Linked DNA regions of Homo sapiens: regions 1, 2 and 3 are each linked to region 4. Evidence: promoter capture Hi-C in 16 types of primary human blood cells and fetal thymus (Javierre and others, 2016). All regions are on one chromosome and are shown on one strand. The core of a region is centred on a gene start or on the middle of the fragment in contact, and the rest is flanking DNA. Distances in the headings are between cores, read along the strand shown.

Region 1 (2,974 bases), core at 10-2,509, 160 kb after region 4:
GCAAACTAACATAGGAACAGAAAACCAAACACTGCACATTATCACTCATAAGTGGGAGTTGAACGATGAGAACACATGGACACAGGGAGGGGAACATCACACACCAGGCCTGTCGGGGGGTGAGGGGAAAGGGGAGCAAGAGCATTAGGCCAAATATCTAATGCACGTGGGGCTTCAAACCTAGAGGATGGGTTAATAGGTGCAGCAAACCACCATGATACATGTATACCTGTGTAACAAACCTGCACGTACGGCACATGTATCCCAGAACTTAAAAAAAAAAAAGCAAACAAACAAAAAACCATAGTAGTATGTTTTTAAATAATAATATACGTTAATTGTTATTACTTAATAACATAAGCAGCTAATATTTACTAGATACCACATTAAATACTTTAATAAAACATATATATACATATGGTGCCTACTGTGTGCAAGACACTGTTCTAGAAACTGAAAGAAACAAGATTTTTGCTCTCCTGGGACCTACTTACTCCTGGGAGAGACAGACAAAAAAATCACAAAAATAATTAAGATAATTTTAGACATTAATGAATATTGCAGAGCAAATTGGCTGGGTTTGGTGGCTCACACCTGTAATCCCAGCACTTTGGGAGGCCCAGGCAGGTGGATCATTTGAGGTCAGGAGTTTGAGACCAGCCTGGCCAACATAGTAAAACCCTGGCTCTACTAAAAATACAAAAAATTATCTCGGTGTGATGGTGGGTGCCTGTAATCCCAGCTACTCGAGAGGCTGAGGCAGGAGAATTGCTTGAACTGGGGAAGTGGAGCTTGCAGTGAGGAAATGGAGATCGTGCCACTGCACGCCAACCTGGACAAGAGAGCGAGACTCTGTCTCAAATAATAAGCACTTATTTAATAAATGGTGCTGGGAAAACTGGCTAGCCATATGTAGAAAGATGAAACTGGATCCCTTCCTTACACCTGATACAAACATTAATTCAAGATGGATTAAAGACTTAAATGTTAGACCTAAAACCATAAAAACCCTAGAAGAAAACCTAGGCAATACCATTCAGGACATAGGCACGGGCAAGGACTTCATGACTAATACAAAAAGCAATGATGACAAAAGCCAAAATAGACAAATGGGATCTAATTAAACTAAAGCACTTCTGCACAGCAAAAGAAACTACCATCAGAGTGAACAGGCAATCTACAGAATGGGAGAAAATTTTGCAGTCTACTCATCTGACAAAGGGCTAATATCCAGAATCTACAATGAACTCAAACAAATTTACAAGAAAAAAACGAACAACCCCATCAAAAAGTGGGCGAAGGATATGAACAGATGCTTCTCAAAAGAAGACATTTATGCAGCCAACAGACACAAGAAAAAATGCTCACCATCACTGGTCATCAGAGAAATGCAAATCAAAACCACAATGAGATACCATCTCATGCCAGTTAGAATGGCGATCATTAAAAAGTCAGGAAACAACAGACGCTTGAGAGGATGTAGAGAAATAGGAACGCTTTTATGCTGTTGGTGGGAGTGTAAATTATTTCAACCATTGTGGAAGACAGTGTGGCAATTCCTCAAGGATCTAGAACTAGAAATACCATTTGACCCAGTGATCCCAAAGATCATAAATCATGCTACTATAAAGACACATGCACATGTATGTTTATTGCAGCACTGTTCACAATAGCAAAGACTTGGAACCAACCCAAATGTCCATCAATGATAGACGGAATTAAGAAAATGTGGCACATATACACCATAGAATACTATGCAGCCATAAAAAATGATGAGTTCATGTCCTTTGCAGGGACATGGATGAAGCTGGAAACCATCAATCTCAGCAAACTATCACAAGGACAGAAAACCAAACACCGCATGTTCTCACTCACAGGTAGGAACTCAACAATGAGAACGCTTGGACACAGGGTGGGGAACATCACACACTGGGGCCTGTCGTGGGGTGGTGAGCTGGGGGAGGGATAGCATTAGGAGAAATACCTAATGTAAATGACGAGTTCATGGGTGCAGCAAACCAATATGGCACATGTATACATATGTAAGAAACCTGCATGTTGTGCACATGTACCCTAGAACTTAAAGTATAATAAAAAAGAAAGAAAGGAAAAAAGAATACTACACAGAAAATGGGCTAGAGAGTCCCGGGGTGGGGAACACAGCAGCTTTAGATTCATGGTTCCCTGCTGAGGAGGTGACTTGTGCTGAGACAGAAGACTTGACAATAGGGGGTGGGGGTCTCCCTGAGAAGAGAAGAGCAGGCTGACACTCCTGCACAGAGCACACTGGAAGGCAGAGAGAGGGCCTGGCAGGGTGGGTGGTCAGAGCAGATCCACCAGTGGACCAGGGCATGAGTTGAGTTTTTGTTTTTGTTTGTTTGTTTGTTTGTTTTTGAGACGGAGTCTTGCTCTGTCGCCCAGGCTGGAGTGCAATGGCGTGATCTCAGTTCACTGCAACCTCTGCCTCCTGAGTTCAAGCGATTCTCCTGCCTCAGCCTCCTGAGTAGCTGAGACTACAGGCGTGCGCCACCACTCCTGGCTAATTTTTTGTATTTTTAGTAGAGACAGAGTTTCACCATGTTAGCTAGGATGGCCTTGATCTCCTGACCTTGTGATCTGCCCGCCCTGGCCTTTCAAAGTGCTGGGATTACAGGCATGAGCCACCCCGCCCAGCCATGAGTTGAGTTTTATGGGCCGCCAGCGGGTGTGGCTTGTGGACCATGGTTAGGATCTTATTCCTGGTGGTGGGAAACTGTTGGAGGGTTTCAATGGGGCAGCAACATGATCAGATTCATTTTTTGGCAAGAGTGAACACAGAAAGATCTGTTAGGAGGATTCCACCTACATGATCTCAATGGATGATCATAACCCTGCAAGGGCTGACGTGTCTTACATTGGGACACTGAGGCTTTAGGGATCCCGAGTGGCTTTTGTAAAGCCACACTGCTGTTGAGTCGTGGAACCCAGATTAGAA
Region 2 (2,700 bases), core at 185-2,684, 160 kb before region 4:
TTATTGACACTGGCTGGCAGGAATCAGCACCATGACTGTCCAGGTGGGGAAACTGAGGCACAAAGCATAACCCTTCTAGGTTCACACAGTGAGGGGGGAATCGATCTCAGAATTAAAGTCTAAGTCCTCTGATAGACACATAGTGGAATTATCTCCAAACGACAAAAACAAAATAAACAACAGACAAAAACCAAACAAGGACCACATTTTTAAATGAGAACGATCAAATAGAACATGTATTATTTGATGACTTGAAGTTTCCAAGGAACTTTTACTATCATCACCTCATTTAACCTTTTAAAATATGAGTTAGGATCCTCATATTATTGAAAAGAAAATTGAGGCTTAAAGAGGTTTGCTACTTGCCTCTGGCCCCTCACCTCATGAGTCTCCATGCTGCTGGCCTGACTGCAAAGCTTCTACTCCTCCCCTAAACCGTTTCCACTTTGCCGTCTCCAATTTTAGGCCGTAGCACACAGCCAAATCTGCCACAGAGCTTCAGAGTGTCCGGCTGACTTTTCTTTTCTTTCTTTCTTTTTTTTTTTGAGACAGAGTTTCACTCTTGTCGCCCAGGCTGGAGTGCAGAGGCGCGATCTCAGCTTACCGCAACCTCTGCCTCCCAGGGTCAAGTAATTCTCCTGCCTCAGCCTCCTGAGTAGCTGGGATTACAGGCGCCCACCACCACGCCCATCTAATTAGTAGAGACAGGGTTTCACCATGTTGGTCAGGCTGGTCTCAAACTCCTGACCTCAGGTGACCCACCTGCCTCGGCCTCCCAAAGTGCTGGGATTACAGGTGTGAGCCACCGTGCCTGGACCCCGGCTGACTTTTCAAGGAGTCTTGTTGAACATCATTCCCCCTCCCAAGTGCCTTTCCCCTTTCACTTACAATTCCACTTCCTGGGGAGGGGGCTCAGCAGTGGATGACCCAGAGAAAGAATTCCTAGAAGATGCAATTGCAATTATTTGCAGACGAAAGTACTTTATTTAATGGTGTTTTACAAATGAAGGGTATAGCCTAAGTGAGCACAGAGAAGAGGATCTCTGCATCCTCCCAGGACTGTACCCTGTAACAGAATCCAGAGCCATGGCCTTCTGTGCCTCACGGGCCTCCCGTTCAGTGCTGCTCCAGGTCTCCCGTGGTATTTACCTTTGCCTGTTGACTTTGAGTGTTCACAGTCACTTTTTTGACCATAACCACATTTAAAGGGCATCTCTAAAGATCAAAGTTAAATTCTCCTCCCACAGAGAATGCTTTTACTGCTGAAAAGCAAAAAGTGCTGAATATGGAAACTCACAGGATGGGAGATAGAACATTCATCTGAACCCCACGAAGAGAACATTTTACAGTGTGTTTTACTTTCTGTTTCTTTACACTGGGTCTGTCCACTGTCCAGTGGCTTTTTCTAGATGGCAGTGGGAACCACAAAAGGGTCGGCAATGCTCTACTGGGTGTAATTCTTCACACTTGACCGTCCGGGACGAAGCTCCTCTCAGAGAATAAAGTAGGGGGTGGCCTGACCATTAAAGTAGGTCCCACAGTATCAAAGGGACAGCGCAAAGCAAAGCCAGACTGAGATGTTGAGACTTACTACCATTAAGCAGCTTAGATGTTCTCTTCTGTAAGACGGAGCCAGTATTCTCCCACCTAGCCGGATGGGTAGGAAGTATTAAATACAGGCCTCACTGGAGCAAAGGTGGGATGATAAAAATGGAAGCAGCAACCACCACGACAAAACCCACATGGCATGGGAGAACCTGCAGGGAGGGCTGCTTCTGGGAAGGCCACCTGGATGCACCAGCACAAGTGCTGTCCCACATACTTTTCCCTGGGACTCTATTCCGCCAGATGTCACTGGAGTGGCTGTACCCGTCATGAAAAATACTGCAGCACAGCCACACAGGTGGATAAAGTGCTGCTGCGCTGAGATTCGTCATTTCCCTCCTCTGCTCTGGGACAAAGAAAGGGCAGGTGATGGGCACCGTGTCTCCTCCAGAACCCTGCTTCAAGACAATGGGCTGCTGTCTTGCAGCCCGCGCCTTACAGATTGTCATGATGTGAATGTTGTCCCTGACCTGGGGAATGGTTTCCTGATCCCAGTGATGGTGCCGCCTGAGGATGGGTGAAGATCTGGACCACACTGGGAGCAGCCTCTTCCTGCAGAGGAGCCCTGGCCATCCTGGCTGCAGATGGGGTCAAAAGGCAGCCAATCACCACACTGCTTGCTTCCCTTCATGGACAGCTGCTTTAAATCTGTTCTAACAAAAGGCACTGGCCACCAGCTGGGTCAATGTGGAGCTTTATTGGCTGTGCAACTTTGGGCAAGTTACTTAATCTCCCAGCTCCTGGACATTTTTAACCATCCTTTACTGAAAGTTTCATGCTTTCCGATGATGATAAATGGTCAGACTTCCCTGACCACCAAGAGCTGAAAGTTTGGAAGAAAAGCTTCCGTGGGGAGTGACTGCAGTGCTTCCTCGTGGAGTGAATTTCACCCACTGCAGGGTTGAAATAGTAGCCTGGGAGCCAGGATGGAGTTCCGGAGCTTTCCTATTGCTTGAGAAAGAGGCTTCTAAGAATGTCCCTTGAGGCCTGGTCTTTATGGGTCTGACCTGGCAGCTAGACCAAGAGGATCTCAATCTGGGTCTGCAGGGACAAGAGAGGACTCTGCGTGACAAAGGGAAGGTGGGAGTCAGAACA
Region 3 (2,919 bases), core at 178-2,677, 140 kb before region 4:
TGAATGAACTTTGTGTTCTGATATTAGAAATGTTTCAAGGTCAAATGCCAGATCAACATAGTTTCCTCAGAGCACTCCCTAACACAGGGCCACTTAATCAACATGGTGCCTAAAAGGTGCAGTTCTTCTGTTCTGAAAAGGCATTAAAGTTATAGAATTGCATTTTGAAAAAATAAGCATCTCTTTAGCAAAAATCATTCTGGAGAACAAGGTCAAAATGCTTCCCATCTCCACAGTCCCACCAGCCAGTACCTGGGACATGCTCTTCCAGCCTGGTTCTCAAGAACCGGGCTCTTGGAATGGGGAAGGAGAGGTGAATGATCTGGTTGCCATCCTTTTAAAAAGGGGTGACAGGTATGTGCATTGATTTAGTGTACATGACGACTGGTAAAAGGACACCAAAGGGAGCAAAAGGGGACCTCAGTTGTCCTGAGTCCTGAGTTCATTCTGGAGCCTGCTTGGTGCACTCGTGTTTCCCCCGGGCAGTGCCATATGCCTCACATACCTCCACTCTGATCCTTTTCTTTTCCCACCTCTTTAAATGCAAAGCATCGCCAACCATTGTTCAGTCTCATCACTGAAAGCTGAACACACAGTGGCAGAGGCCAAAGCCTGTGGCTGTGTGTGCCTGAGATTAAGACTTTTATCTGATCTTTGACAACTTGCAGAGGAAATCCTGTTCCAAAACTCACAGCCCTGAGAGAAGGGTTGCCAGCAGTTCTTCCCTCCCACCTGTGAGATAAATCAGGGCACTTGAAATGCGAACATGGTTGATAAATATAATAAGCTTGCCTCCTCTCGCTCCATTAATCTCTCCCCCTACCTTTTTTCTTTGAACCATGGAGCACAACAAAGTCTCTTGGCAGAGCCGGGCTGGGAGTCCTTTGTGTTGCCCTCGTACACATCCGATTACAAAGCAGAGGTGCCTAGCAGAAGAATCCCTGCAGCTGAAACTCAAATGACCGTCCTGTCTTTAGGATTCACGCAGGAGCTCAGCCAGCTCTTTCTAAACCGAGGCAGACACGGGTAGCTGTGTCATATCTGTGTAGACCCAAAGTGGTTCTCAACTCCTTGAGTCAAAGAACATCAGGCAGAAGGGTGTGTCTCTGGCGGTTGGAGTAGAGGTTGCAAAAAGTTGTAGGTTCCTCTCATTTCCTTCACCCCACCCTTGGCTAGGGGACTAATTGAATGTGGTTAGTTCTAGATGGTTCATCATATCCCTGGACTTGATGTAGCCAAGGCAGGTTTACCTGATACTCAGGTACAGCTGGGATGCCCACCAGGGCAAATGGGGAGTGCAAATGAGAATTTCTGTGCCTGAAGGGAAGAATCCCAATACAGAACGCACTGGAACGTTTGCCTTGACTCTGCTCCTTGTTTGGCTTCCCTTACTGCAAAACAGGAGTGGCTCTGGTCACAAGGACACTCAGGGCATACTGGGTGCCCAAGGGGAATGGACAAGAGAAGGCATAGAACCTGCCTCAGGGAGATTTTACTCACAGGGGCCACTGCAGTTATGGAAGAAATGTTGTTCAAAAAGTGTCCAAGCGTCAACACGCAGGAGCACCACCAGCAGCAGGCCAGAGAGGGCGGTCCAGCTCCAGAGGTGACACAGCTAAGAGGTGCGGCCTCTGCCGCAGCACCCTCATTGCGCAGCAAAGGGACACACAGGTGATTACTAAGCTCTTTTTGGCTCTGGCGTCCCATGGTTCTGTGACAGCCTCTGCCAGATAGTTCATTAAGGATGAGGCCAGACCCTCCCTGCTGCCTCCCAAAGGGAATCCGGAAGTGCACTGCCTAGGCCAAGGCATGCCCATGTCCTGGCCGCTCCACCTGCGTGGTGAGCTGGGTGGAGACAGCGTTAGCCCCCGGCCTGCTGCACTATCAGACTCCATGGCATTTGGGGCTGCACCCTGTGATTCCTCTTAAAGCGGAGCTACTCTGCTGAAGGCCCAAGGGAGAGGGCCACGTTTTGTGTTTTGTTTTGTTTCAGCTTGTGAGGAAAATGAACTTGCTAGTCAGTATGGAACTGGCCTGAGGGGAAGTGGGTCAGGGAGGGAAGCTTTACTTCTGGCCGGTGTGGGACAGAGAAGAGAGCAGGAATGCCTGCTCTTCTCCCCGCTTTAACTCCTTACCTCTCCACTTAGACAAAGCTAGGTCAGACATAGAGGACAGGTGCCTCTTTTGCTCTGAGATGGGCTGTGGTTGTGGGACAGGGTGGCTGGATGCAGTGGTGTGCTGGAACTGGCTCATGAGGTTCCTGAGAGCCAGTTGCACGCATCTCTTCTCAACTGCATGCCCAGTGGGAGCTTGAAGCTGGGCATCATGAAATAAGTGCAAATTACACAAACCTGGAGAGCCAGTTGTTAAGTGTTTATGAACACATGTGGCTGAATGCACCTCCTTCTCAATCAGATGGGACTTAAATCTATGTACCAAGGTCTTGGGCTGCAGCAAGTCAGCCTTTGAAGCTGATACATCAGCCCTTTCCGCAACCACTACTCTAGACCTGGCCCTTGGGCTCTGTCCAGGTCCTGGCTGCCTGCATCTCACGGAAAGGTTGAAACAGGGCCTGACTTGCTGAGATCAGCATCTAGACCACCCAACTCCTTACACTCTTCCTCTTGAGGACTTAAAGTGGCTTGCTATCGCTGGTTTTCTAATCCATAAGCTATAAAGTATATACATAATACTAGCCATTATTGATTTAGGAGCTACTGTTTGCCAGGTATGGAACTAAGGACTTTGCGTAAGTTATCTCGTTTCATTCTCACCATAGCCTTATGAAATAATTTCCTCATTTTATAGTTCAGGAAGGTGAGGCTTGGGAGGTTACCCAGCTTATAAGTGGCAGAGCTAAGATCTCAACTCAGATCTGATTCTGAAGTGTGCTCCTTCCAAAATCTACATTCTTTCAAC
Region 4 (2,939 bases), core at 213-2,712:
TGCAAACATAGTGAATACAGTTGTAATTAGTTATGATTGGTATAATTGACCGTGGGCTCTTTAAATGGGGCAGTGTGCTGAAATTGACTGGGTTACAGGGGCAGGCTGAAGCTTCCCTAGCTCTCTTCATAGACTTCTTTTGTAGCATGTATTACATTTTTGGGGGGAGATCGTTGATTTATGTGTCTGTCTCCTCACTACAATGCAAACTTGCTATCTTTCTAGTGCCTAGAACAGTGCCTGGCACAGGCAATTTATTAAACTAAAGTGAACCAATAGCATTACCTCTTCCTTACTTCCAAGTTAATGTGCAAAGGCAGAAGATGAGCAGTAAAATCTTGCTTTACTTACAATGTCATCTTAACTGCATTGCCAGCTTTATACAATGAAGGCTGATGATGATATGGCTCCAAATGACAGTTATTAGATTTTCAAGGATTTTCTAAGTTTGTATCTTTATTAAAAAGAGAAAGAAGCCAACTATGACAAATCTTAACTCCCACCTCCTACTCAAAGAAGATGGAATCTTTTAGGATAAAAGTCTTAGATTAAGCAGCCAAATACTGACTTCTCAAAAAAAATTGTAATAACTCCATTCATAGAAATGAGATTATGCTGTAACATTCTTACCATAGTCCTGAATATGTGAATAAAAGATGCTGTGTATTTTCACTTAGGACAGATGTAAGATTTTCATATTGTTTACATTTTCCCTAAATGAGAAATGTATGAACACTTCTGCCCTTTTATTCCTGCACCACGGACCATGAGTCAGGGCTGCTAAAAGTATCCTTATTTTAGAGATTGCCTAAAACCAGACTTATATGAAAAGGGGATTTTTAGCTTTACTTTTCAGAAATCCCAAGTCCATATCCAGTCAGCTCTCTTCCACAAAATTATTTTCTTTTCTTTAGAAAATATCACATTTCATATCAAGTTATTAGAGAGAAACGGGAAGCCTGAGCAGGTGACTGGGTGGTGGACGTCCTGTGTTTCTAAAGCAATCCCTTTCCCTCACCTGAGACCTTGCCTAGGTTAATGGGGGCTCCATTGAGAAAGTCAAGGAACATGAAGCATGAATATTTACATATTCAGCAGAGAGTAAATGCATCAGCAAATGATGAGGTGAGATACAGTGTTATCCCACTGAACTAGTTCCCTTTTGCTCATCTCCCTCCCTGTTACTCTCCAAGGCTGAGTTATATTCAGCTGAAGCACAATTTGAAGAATACGAAATAATGTGTGATTTGGTGCCACCACTGTCAATCAACAGTGCTTTCCACCTAGACTGCTGTGCCTGTGCCAGTGGCTGCTGTCCTGGTGCCAGGGGCAAGAGGAAGACTGCCTTTTTTCCAGCTTTCCCTGGCTTGACCACACCCCCCAATTTAAGGAGGCAGCTCTATTAGAAACATTATGGTCTTTGCATCCTCTTAAGCTACGGAGCAGAGGATTCCCGCAGGTAGTTGGAAAGAGACCACAGACTTTGAGGGAAGCTCACTCAGGATCTGCTCTCCGGCAAAGTAGTAAGTGAGGTGTGTGTCAGTTTCTGCCTAAAACTTTTCAGTCCATTTTCCTTTTCCTGCTTTAAAAAAATTTCTGTGGAATTAAAGAGTAAGTCGGTAGGGAGATTCAGGATACAAGTGAGTTTTCTCTTTCTCTTTTCACGTCTTTCTATATTCCCATTTAATTGTTTAACAATTTTCAAAAATACTTCCTAACCTCGTCAGAATAGTCTGAAAGCAAGACTATGTTTTTAAAAATGTTCCCTGCTTCACAAAAGTAAAACCATGCACGTTTTAGATACCCGTAGATTACTTGTCAGAAACCCTGATTTTTTTTTTTTTTTTTTGCAAATTGGAGCACTTCCAAAGAAATAAAGCTGTAGTTAAATATATAAATTTCTTTTTATTCTCTTTCACTCCTAGTAAATCTATTGTTTTACTTTTTTCTCCTGCTAGTAGTTTAATGAATTGCTTTTAATAGAGAGGAAATTGCTACAGGTTTGAATCTTGCTAGCCAAACTAGCCTGTTTGGTGTTTTTCTCTGTCTTGGGACTGACCTGCAGTTGTCCAAAGATCTACAAGTTCCTAAGTCTGTTGTTGAGACATGGTGTGGGTGTGGGCCGCGGTTGTCTCAGAGTTAGGGAGGTATTTCTTGTCCCCACGGTAGAGCTGGACTCAGTGGCAGGAGATGTCGATGGCAATTCCTCTGCATCCGGTGATTTTATCTGGCCGTGACACTTTGTATGTGACTCCTCACCCACCGTTAAAGGTCTCTGTTACCAACTTTTAAAGTAGTATTTTCTTCAGGCAAACTTAAAAGGGTGCTGGGTCACTGAAATCAATGCATTCTATTGCAGGATTTCTTTATCACCTTTTGGGTAAGTTTTTGTTTTTAATCTCAAGTCCATTTTCCTTCTTACTTTAGACCACTGCCATGCAACTGAGAAAAAAGTATTTGTTAAACAGCAGGAAATACCAATTCTAAAATGATAACTCCATCAGCTCCATTTGATTTGTAAAATTACTGATACTATAACTCTTTCATCAGTTGTGGTTTTGGGTTTGGTGGCCTATTTTTATCCAAAGAGAAAACGCTTTTTCTTCAGGGGCCGTGGGCTGTGCACAAGGGCTGCAGGGTGGCCACTGCTGCTGTTGAGAGTCTTGCTCACCTGTTGTTCCTGAATGGAGGGAAGGGAGAGCTAATGGGTTAATGTCTGCAAAGTGCTTTGAAGATGAAAAGGTCTTTTCATGTGTTCAGTAGTGCAGTTATTAATATTAATATTTGAAGAAGCATGCTGCTTCTAATTGTAAATCAACTACTTCCATCCTTGCCAACTCAATAGTGAAATAACAAACAGTTCAGGCATCCATGCAGCCTCTTCCGTCCTGGTTCCGCTGCTGAGGATGTGGGAAGCCAAGCCGAGAGCCTAATTATGG

Evidence for each region. Contacts are between HindIII fragments. The CHiCAGO score rates a contact against its expected background, and 5 or more counts as called.
Region 1: a fragment that was not itself captured here is called in contact with the fragment with the promoter of ETS1 in region 4 in 5 of 17 cell types (total B cells, activated CD4 T cells, naive B cells and 2 more); the score reaches 9.0 in total B cells.
Region 2: a contact is called between a fragment that was not itself captured here and the fragment with the promoter of ETS1 in region 4, in 5 of 17 cell types (activated CD4 T cells, total B cells, naive CD8 T cells and 2 more). The highest score is 11.9, in activated CD4 T cells.
Region 3: a fragment that was not itself captured here is called in contact with the fragment with the promoter of ETS1 in region 4 in 6 of 17 cell types (activated CD4 T cells, total B cells, naive B cells and 3 more); the score reaches 9.1 in activated CD4 T cells.

Annotation. Positions count from the first base shown.
Region 1 is chr11:128,425,381-128,428,354 of GRCh38, reverse strand. All of the region lies in intron 1 of LOC124902789 (a long non-coding RNA gene), which reads right to left. Among named protein-coding and RNA genes, the nearest start is that of MIR6090, 96 kb to the left of the region's middle. The HindIII fragment of the contact is 3,566 bases long and covers 1-2,974 here.
Region 2 is chr11:128,746,479-128,749,178 of GRCh38, reverse strand. The region is part of intron 1 of FLI1 (Fli-1 proto-oncogene, ETS transcription factor); the gene reads right to left. Among named protein-coding and RNA genes, the nearest start is that of SENCR, 52 kb to the right of the region's middle. The HindIII fragment of the contact is 2,032 bases long and covers 419-2,450 here.
Region 3 is chr11:128,727,115-128,730,033 of GRCh38, reverse strand. All of the region lies in intron 1 of FLI1 (Fli-1 proto-oncogene, ETS transcription factor), which reads right to left. Among named protein-coding and RNA genes, the nearest start is that of SENCR, 33 kb to the right of the region's middle. The HindIII fragment of the contact is 1,275 bases long and covers 790-2,064 here.
Region 4 is chr11:128,586,081-128,589,019 of GRCh38, reverse strand. It overlaps ETS1 (ETS proto-oncogene 1, transcription factor), which reads left to right and starts at 1,462. Exons shown (of 10, transcript NM_001143820.2): 1 at 1,462-1,532. LOC105369565 (a long non-coding RNA gene) reads right to left here. Exons shown (of 5, transcript XR_948163.3): 4 at 2,060-2,680. RefSeq lists a silencer at 1,303-1,509. The HindIII fragment of the contact is 9,036 bases long and covers 114-2,939 here.